Regions from separate parts of the Homo sapiens genome. Here region 1 is linked to region 2. The links are contacts of gene promoters, found by promoter capture Hi-C in blood cells and fetal thymus (Javierre and others, 2016). All regions are on one chromosome and are shown on one strand. Each heading gives the region's core, a stretch centred on a gene start or on the middle of the fragment in contact. The rest is flanking DNA. Distances are from core to core; before and after follow the strand shown. Region 1 has its middle 8.3 kb from the start of LINC01913. Region 2 holds the start of KCNG3 (potassium voltage-gated channel modifier subfamily G member 3).

The links. The method cuts DNA at HindIII sites, captures the fragments that hold promoters and counts their contacts. A CHiCAGO score of 5 or more calls a contact.
Region 1: a contact is called between a fragment that was not itself captured here and the fragment with the promoter of KCNG3 in region 2, in 2 of 17 cell types (naive CD4 T cells and activated CD4 T cells). The highest score is 7.3, in naive CD4 T cells.

Annotation. Positions count from the first base shown.
Region 1 is chr2:41,866,901-41,871,573 of GRCh38, reverse strand. It overlaps the pseudogene RNU4-63P. Among named protein-coding and RNA genes, the nearest start is that of LINC01913, 8.3 kb to the left of the region's middle. RefSeq lists a silencer at 1,657-1,756. The HindIII fragment of the contact is 2,317 bases long and covers 304-2,620 here.
Region 2 is chr2:42,491,700-42,496,376 of GRCh38, reverse strand. KCNG3 (potassium voltage-gated channel modifier subfamily G member 3) reads left to right here and starts at 2,395. Exons shown (of 2, transcript NM_133329.6): 1 at 2,395-3,540. The coding sequence starts at 2,876. It also overlaps a transcript of MTA3 not described here. RefSeq lists enhancers at 1,074-1,368, 2,693-3,450, 3,451-4,208 and silencers at 2,123-2,202, 2,293-2,342, 2,523-2,612. The HindIII fragment of the contact is 17,203 bases long and covers 622-4,677 here.

The DNA of each region.
Region 1 (4,673 bases), core at 213-2,712, 620 kb after region 2:
TGGAGTCTGGGAGGACTCCACCTGGATGGGTGGCAGGTGGCATCAGCTCTTCACATCCATCCTTGGTTTCCCTTGGATCCCTCTCCATCACTGTCTTTATTCACCTCAGCCTCCCCCAGCTGGAGCCACAGGCAGCCCTGTCCCATTCCGGAGCCAGTTCTGACCAAGGCAGGAAATGGATGTGGAGCCTCCGCCTGCCACTGGAGGGAGGAGGGGGCTGGAATTAGGTCTCATGTTTTCAATCAGCAACAATCGCGCCTCGGTTAAACCTCAGAGGCGACGGTGGTAGCACCACTCAAAGCTTACATTAAGTTGTTTCCTCAGATGTGGGATCCAGAGGCTTAGGCACGACTCACAGGCTCCTGGGTGCCTTTCTCCTGCGCTCAAGTCTCCTTTCCTCAAATCCAAATGAGGACTGGGTGTGTCAGAGGCAGTCTGGCTGCCTGGGCAGCTCCTGAGTTCCAGAATTTCCTAATCTTCCTTACCCCCAATGGCATCTGCAGCAATTCCCAAGTCCATAATCTGACCATAGTATTGTCTGGCCTTCCAGACCCTTCCTTGAGGCTCATTTGGAGGCTGGGTGCCCCTGGGACAGTGCAGCCTTCCTTCTGACTGTTGGGGATAAACAGCTCAGGGTCCTACCCCAGGTCTGGACTCTGCTGGCATCTCTTCTAATGTCGGGGGTCATCTGTCAGTTAAGAACTACCCTGAGGAGTGGCCTCCAAAGATGGAACCATTAGCTCAGAGGCGCAACATACTTGGTTCCATAAGCCTGCCTCTTTTATGGCCCTAGGAAAGCAAGAGCAGATCAATACATGCTTTTTGAAAGAATCTCAGAGTTTGTGGCAGAACCATTCTGAGATGTGATTAGGACTTGGGACACACAGGTCTTCCTAAACTCTTCTTGAAGGACATTGATTGACCTGAACTGTAACTAATACTGGCTAAGCCAGAATCTTGGAAAAGGTAATATGAGGAAGGTTGTAGTGATAGGAGCTTTTGGTGTCTGAGGAGCAGAACTGAAAATGGAGAAGCCAAGGAGGGTAGAGAATTGGTCAGGGTGTCTGCCTAGAGGCAAGTAGACGCTGATTCTAGACAACAGGTGCTGGGCCTCAGACAGTGGGGGAACAGTGTGTGCTGGGATTGGCCCTCGGAGCATGCAGCGCCCAGGCTCAGGTTTGGTGCTCCTAAGCACGGCCCTGAACCACTGCTGGCCGGGGGGCATTCCTCTACCTCCAGGCTTCGCTGTGGCTCTGCTCTGAATTTGCTATTTGACAAGGATAGCCAGGAAGAGCAGTTCCCTCCCTTCCTCTGCCTGCGCCAACCCCATCAGCAGCCTGTGGTCAGAGGTGCCCTCCTACCCCCATTTCCATGGGTGCCCATGGGAGCAGCATTGGAGGGCAAATCCAGGAGGCCTCTCCCCACCTGCTGCCTCCATCACCCCCAGGGCTGCCTGGCCAGGCTATCTTGCTCACTTTCAGGAAAAGGATCACAGGGAAAGGAACCTCCAGAACCCTAGAAGAGAGACCTCAATGCCATAAGGAAGAGTCTGGGGCAGAGGGGACGGTGGAGGGTAGGGGAGGGAGTGAAGCCCACTTGAGCTTTTGAAAATCTTCCTCCCTTTGAGTCTTCCCCAGCCCTAAGGCTGTTGGTGGGGCATCAGCGACCCCTGCTGGCCACCACATCTGGGATTTCCTCTGCCCTCCAGACCTCCATAGCTTTCCCCTCTGCTTTCAAGCCTCCCCTTCTTCCCAGGTTGAGGATTCTCTTCTCCCCAGAGACCCCACTCCCCCTTCCCTACTAGCCTTGCCTGTCTGTCCCCAGTTTTCTTTTATCCTTTTCTTTTACATATTCCATTCCCTTTTTCTTCTGGCAGAACTCAGCTTCTGTCTTTTGGAGCCTCCCTGCAGAAAACCACCTGTAGGGAAGAGATGGATAAAGCAGTGATAAGGCACCTGGTAAAGCATAACACACAGGAATGTCCAGGGGCTCATCTGGGCTGGAACAATAGATCCCTTTAAATGTGCTATCTGTCCCTCATATTTCTTCCATTTCACTCCAAGCCGAAACAACTACAGTTTATTATTTTATTATTATTTTGAGATGGAGTCTCACTCTGTCATCCAGGCTGGAGTGCAGTGGTGTGATCTCGGATCACTGCAACCCCCACCTTCCGAGTTCAAGCAGTTCTCCCTGCCCCAGCCTCCTGAGTAGCTGGGATTACAGGTGCCCACCACTATACCCGGCTAATTTTTGTATTTTTAGTAGAGATGGGGTTTCGCCATGTTGGCCTGGCTGGTCTTGAACTCCTGACCTTAGGTGGTCCGCCTGCCTTGGCCTCCCAAAGTGCTGGGATTCCAGGCATGAGCCATCCTGCCTGGCTGAACTATGGTTTACTGAATGCCTATTCTGTGCCTGTCTGTGTGTAGGGGACATACTTTGTGCCTCACTTTGCTCCTGTCCAGAGGCACCAGTCTCATGTTGAGGCAGGAGAGGAATGGTTGTGGGAGGATGTGGGTGCAGTTGGATGTCCAGCTTGCCCTGCCCCAACCTCTCTATAACTCATGCTGGTCACAGTGATCAGGCTTTCTTTAGTCTCAGGGCACAAGATTCTCAAGCTTGGCCACCTCATTCCATAAAATAGATAAGAAGTAGCTGCCCAAGTGGAGTTCCCTCTCTTAGGCCTTTGTCAGTCTTGCTCTAGCCTTGGCCTCTGCAGTGTCCTGGGTTCTCATGGCTTGCCATCCAGATGCAGGGCATGCATGATGAGGGGTGTAGGTAGGGGATACACCCATCTCAGGAGGCCAGGACCAGAGTCCCCCGCCCACCTCAAAAGGGCCCCATGTAGGGGCTAAAGGCCGTGGTTAAGTCAGAGGATTTTTATTTTTCTTAAAAGGGAAAAAGCTAAGATACCCTAATAAAAATGAGGCTTATTCTAGAGCAGAAAGCTCTCAGCCTGAGCTCCAGTCCAACACAGATAGGCACTCACTTCCTGGCCCAGGCCTTAATTTCCCTATTATATGGGAGCTAGGATACCCCCCAAAGGTCCTTCTTTTTTTTTGCTCTGAAGTTCTGTGGTTCTATTTTTCTTGCTTTTGCATGGCCAGGCAGACTAGGATGCAGCTTTGATCTACCTTGCGCCAGCTACCTCCCACCCACTCACGTGGATTCTAGGCTTTCATTTTTGCTGGAGTAATATTTTTCTGATGTTTATTTTTAAAAGTTCTGCATCTGTGGTGACCATCTCCCATTTGGAAAATTAACTACTTACAGATGTTGTGTGTGGCACAGCATTCTCCCAGGCAATGAAACCGCTGGGGTTTGGCTATCATTTCAAAAGTAAGAGGAGGGAAGGAAAGATGTATGTCTCTGATGTAGGTGTCAAAACTTCTTGACCTTCTGTAAAATGCCCAAATGTGATTTACTTTTATAAATTGAAGAGTGGAGAATTTCTTAAGCCTTGAGAGCCCAAGTGTTAAAAAACTCAAATGGAAATGGTCATATGTGGGATGTTTATGGTCATTTGTGGAATGTTTGCAGAGGGAAGGCACTAGCTGCGCGGCTGGGGCTGAGTGAACTCCTATGCTGTGCATAGAATACAGAGCTTAGCCCTCATCACCCCCATCCCCATGGTCAGCTGTGGCCAGTCAAGGCAGTGATTTATGTTGCTTTCCAGGATCTAGGTAAAGTGCATCCCAGCCTTGAGCAGAACCAGCAGATCCTTCTGACTCCAGGGTGCTGTGAAGACTCACTGGCTCTCTACCCTGTGTCATCCACCCGACCTTGACTTTCATTTTTGATTTCTGCCCTCCCTAGGAACTTGCACACGTCCTCCTCAAGACCTCCATCTCCAGGCATCACCCTTGCTCCTCTCCTCCCACACAACAGAAAATAGTTCCAGGATTAAAAAGACATTTTGTAAGATCCCAGTGAACTCTCACACAAAGCTCATTTTTTGTTTTCTTATTCATTGGCCACCCCCAGCTTCCGCCTCCTCAACAGTTGTCAAATACAGGCTCAACTCGAGAGAAGGAGCCATAGCCAGCTCTTTGTGTGGATGTTGATGCTGTGTATGTGTGCGGTGTGTGTGTATCTGCAGAGTGGGGTTTGTCTATGTGGAGTGTACACGTGTGCTGGTATTTGTGGCTGGGAGGAACCAACAGGACAAGAGCTCCTTTCCCCAGATGGGGCTTGCCCTGGCTGAGACATCTTTCTTGCCTGGATCTGGGACAGCTTCCTTTTTGCTACTGTTCCATTTCTGTCTCTGTTGATTTCTCCTGTCTTTGTTTCTTTCTACCAGAAGGTTCCTGCAGCCTTTGTCCTGTGAGAATGACTAAGGATAAATAAAAATTTGAGTAGCAGAGGAACTCAGAGACTGTCTCTCAAGTCTAATGAATCTGACTGCTTTAAATGTGAGAAGACTGAGGCTCGTTCTGTGCAGTGCGTTTGAACAGAAAGTTCATGCTTGTTCCACATCAGCAGGTTTAAACATTGTGTTAATGTTTTGTATCTCTGGTAAGATTTTTTGAAAGAGACACTCAAAAAGTGGGGGGAGCATAAGTACTATTCATTATAGGCAGATGGATGAGGATTTAGAATGTGGAGATTTGGAAGACAAAACTCAAGCTAGACACAATTTGTTTTCAAGGGAGAAAAATTAGGCAAAAAGTTAA
Region 2 (4,677 bases), core at 1,146-3,645:
GCATCACTGTTTTCTTTGTTTAAGAAAACGATTTGGGTATTGCTGCTGCAGCAGTGGTTGATGATATTAAAATCAAATAAAAATATTACTCTTGAAACAAATGAAATGATTTAAGCCTATCTCTCTAAGAAATCGCATGAAAATATACCTAGGAGGCACACATTGTATTGTCATCAAATTAATTTGTTTTCTAAGCTCAAATGTAATTTAAAATGAGATATTTCTTCAACTGGTTCAATCAACAGACAGTAGAAGGATTCTACGGAGAGAACACAGGAAATAAACCCTACAATAATGTTAGAGCAAACAATCGGCACTATAGTTCTGTCTTCTATTGCTTGTGATGCTTCTAGAAAGTATTTTTTAACGGCTTCCTGATGAATTGGCTCTTGGTATCAAGCCAGGCTCATCTCTGGCTCACATCTGCAAACTTTTCCCCATCCTCACGTCCTACAACAAATCCATCTTCAAGACCTGCAAAGTTCTTGGTCTCAGCGTTTCTCAGAACAGACCCTTCTTCATCTTCACAGACACGGGGTTGGGGATCCCATTCCTGGGTTGCGAAATGACCTTCTCCTTAGAATGACCCAAAGTGCAAAGGCATCTTCCTGAAATAAAGCTTTCATCAAGCCATTTCTGCTATGGAAACCTCCAGGGATTCCATTGCTTATGGGATCCAATTTAAATGCTGCAGTTGAGATCCCCATTGTTTCAGTGGGCAAGTGCATTATACTTCTTCACAGACTTTAAACCTCCACATTCGAGATTTTGCTACTAGGAATGTTTTGCCCTTTCTCTGTGCCAACTCATGGCCATCAGCACCTCCAATTCTGTCTTGAAACTCACTTTCTTACAGATATTTTTCTTGTTTAATATCTACTTAGTAGATACTAAACAGCAAAGTAGCAGTATCTACCCAGTAGACACTAAATAGCAAAATAGATACTGAATAGCAAACTATTTAGTAGATACTAAAGTAGCAAATAACTCCTGTTTTTGAGCTTTTAATCACATTTAGTGCTCTTAAGATAAATTATCCAAGTCTGGGGATAAACAACTCACAGAGATTTTCATTCTTTAAGAAGCCACCGAGAGTGATTTTACTTAAAAGACAGCACTCACATTTTCAGTTGTCTGCCTTTTCACTAGGAATCCACTTAAGAACCAGCGCAAAAGGACTCCGTTTGGCGACCTCTAGCGGGCACCGGACAATCCTACAAAATTACGAAAAGTAGAGGGCAATGAAAAACTCTTCCCTTTAACCAGCCAGGTTACCCTGTGGTCAGATGACCGCATCTCACCCTACCCCACCCTTATTTTTTTCTTCTAGTATTTGTTTTGCATCTAACACGGTTCGCCTTACAACTCACCTGTCTCGCCTCCGGCGGGCTGGGCTGCCGGTGTCGGGTGTCAGGTGAATGAATTGCTGGTAGCAGTTTAAAATAATCCCTGCCAAGTGGAACCCGCTTTCTGGGCACGGACAAGAGCGCGGGGTAGATCGCTCTGCGGAGCCTTCACGGGGCTCTTCCCGCTCGGAGGGCCGGTGCTGCAGCCGGGTCAGGGGTGCGCGGGGGAAATCAAGATATTTTGAAAAGGAGGATGCAGACGAAGACCAAGAGAAAGGCTGTTTTTGCCGGTGACAAGGCGTTCCTCCCCAGACTTTCATCCCACTCTAAGGGCAGCATCTCGAGAGGGTCCAGGCGCGCTACACGTTAGGCGCCTTCTCAGGACTCGCGCCCCAGAACGTGGGGGCCGGGGCCGGGTCGGGGACCGCTTCCCTCCGCGGGCTGGCAGGCGGCACCGAGGCTGGGGGATGGGGCGTGTAGCCGCCCTCTGAGCACGCGGTACGTGGGTCGCCCCGCGCGGCGGTAGGAAGAGCAAAGTCGGCAGGAAAAGCCGTGGCTGGGATGCCTTCCCTGAGAAATCCTTAGGGGCGATGTCAGAACCCGAGCTGGGCTCCGGACAGTTTCTGGAAAAAGCTCTCCAAACGCCGTCTGTCCCCGCACCCGAGTCCACACTGGGCTTTGAACCAGGGCTGTTAAAAGGGGCCCTGGGGACTGCCCAATTCATCCCGATGGCCCAGGGCAGGACGCGGGAGCAGGCATCCCGGCGCTGGGCTCCCCGCTCCCCCGCCCTGCGGACCCCTCCCCGCCACTACGGGCCGGAGCGGAGGGGGAGGACGGCGTCACGAGGCGGGGAGCCCGAGGTCCAGGGCGGGGCGCCCGGGAATCCCAGCCCGAGCAAGCCGGGGAGGTGCGGGCGCGGGCGGGAAGCGGAGGGCGGCGCGGAGGGAGGTGAGCGGCGCGCGCGGAGCCGGCGGGCGAGGAGGAGGACTGCACAGAGGCCCCGCCCCCGCCGCCGCGAGCCGGCTCTTCGCCGCCTCCGAACCCGCTCACTTTGCCTCTCGCCTCTGGACGGCGGCGGGGCGGCCGCCGGATTCGCGGCCGCAGGGAGCGCCGGAGACGGGGAGCTATTCCGCCCCGGCGGCTCCATTCGGCGCCCGCAGCCCTCAGGGGGTCGGCCCCGCGGCTTGGGAGAGGGCACCGCGGCCTCGGTGTGCGCAGCCCTCGGGCGCGAGGGTCGGCGGCGCGGACACAGCCGCGTTCCCAGCCGGTGGGGCTCAGCGCTGGCGCCGGCGAGGACTCCCCGGCCACCCGCAGGTACCGCCGGGCGGAGGGCGCGCTACTAGCAGCGCCGGAGATACTCGAGCCCAGGGACCCCCGGGCCAGCGGAGGGCAGGAGCGGAGCCCCGAGGGAGCGCGGGCCCCGACGGCGCGCTCCCCCGTCAGCCACGGGCAGGCAGGCCCCGCGTGGCGGCTTGGGGTGGGGGGCTGCAGCGGGGCCCTCGGGCCGAAAGTCCCCCGGGCGGCCAGCCATGACCTTCGGGCGCAGCGGGGCGGCCTCGGTGGTGCTGAACGTGGGCGGCGCCCGGTATTCGCTGTCCCGGGAGCTGCTGAAGGACTTCCCGCTGCGCCGCGTGAGCCGGCTGCACGGCTGCCGCTCCGAGCGCGACGTGCTCGAGGTGTGCGACGACTACGACCGCGAGCGCAACGAGTACTTCTTCGACCGGCACTCGGAGGCCTTCGGCTTCATCCTGCTCTACGTGCGCGGCCACGGCAAGCTGCGCTTCGCGCCGCGGATGTGCGAGCTCTCCTTCTACAACGAGATGATCTACTGGGGCCTGGAGGGCGCGCACCTCGAGTACTGCTGCCAGCGCCGCCTCGACGACCGCATGTCCGACACCTACACCTTCTACTCGGCCGACGAGCCGGGCGTGCTGGGCCGCGACGAGGCGCGCCCCGGCGGGGCCGAGGCGGCTCCCTCCAGGCGCTGGCTGGAGCGCATGCGGCGGACCTTCGAGGAGCCCACGTCGTCGCTGGCCGCGCAGATCCTGGCTAGCGTGTCGGTGGTGTTCGTGATCGTGTCCATGGTGGTGCTGTGCGCCAGCACGTTGCCCGACTGGCGCAACGCAGCCGCCGACAACCGCAGCCTGGATGACCGGAGCAGGTACTCCGCCGGCCCTGGGAGGGAGCCCTCCGGGTAGGACGCACTGCTTCTCTACCCGTCCCGTCCGTCCTGTCGCGTCTGTCCGTCCCGTCCATACGTCCCGTCTCCGTCCTGTCCGCCTCCGGGCGACCGAGCCAGCGGGGTGCGCGCCCAGCGAGGCCCAGGCGCGGCCAACTACGGGACCGGTCGGTCCCCACTCCTACCCCGTTGTCCGGGGCACCAGCGGGGTCTGGCCCTTACACTAGACGCACCTCTTGAGGGCGAAATCCTCAGGCATGGGGAGGGGCGTGTAGAGATAGACAAATGTCCCCTCTTTGTAGTTTACTTTTGCGCAGAGAGCAACCTGCTAATTACATTTTTCTGAACTTTTATTGTTAGGGTTCAACAATTAAGCCTTGAACTAAGCGCAGTTTGAATTATTTGCCAATTTTTGGTAGTGTTTGGAAAGATGGATTCTTGTTATGGTGAAATGTGCACTCTCCACACATTCTATACACTCTGCCCCCGGCATACTATGTGCTGTAATGGAATCGTTATATTATAAAGCAGGTTAATTTATCGATAGACTCTAAATAATGGATGTCTGTGCCCTTTTCTTCCCCCTTTTCCTACAAAGTATGGAGTTAGCAAACCTCTTGTCCACCGTTTGGTAGCAAAGATTCACACTGCGACTTTCAGAGGGTCTATGATATGGGAAGGGAAAAAACCATTACCTTGAGAACAAAGAAAAATCTAAACTGTCCTAAATCCAGAAAACAGTATTTGGGTAAATTTTTTTTTCTACTTTACTAGGATGAATGGGAAAATATTGCAGTCTTTTCTTAGACTGTCTTACCTTGAAGTGGTGATAGCACTTTCCTGTTTTTAGTACAAGTGAGCATATTCAGTGGGAGGAATAAGCAGACTAAGGATGGACTTTCAAAGAAGACAGCCTTTTGGGGCACAAAACCCAAACTGCATATTATAGTTTATCTGTTTGACACTGTCTTAAGATCCTCCTTCCATTCATTTTTTAAATTTAAGGTTGTGCCCTGTCATGTTTTACTGATAGGCATGTACATGTTCGGAACGGCGGCCTTGCTATTGCAGTGGATTACTTCTACATAATATTCTTCCTGTAGGGAGTAAGGATTTTTATATAAATCTAAGAAGTAAATAAAATTGTCTAGT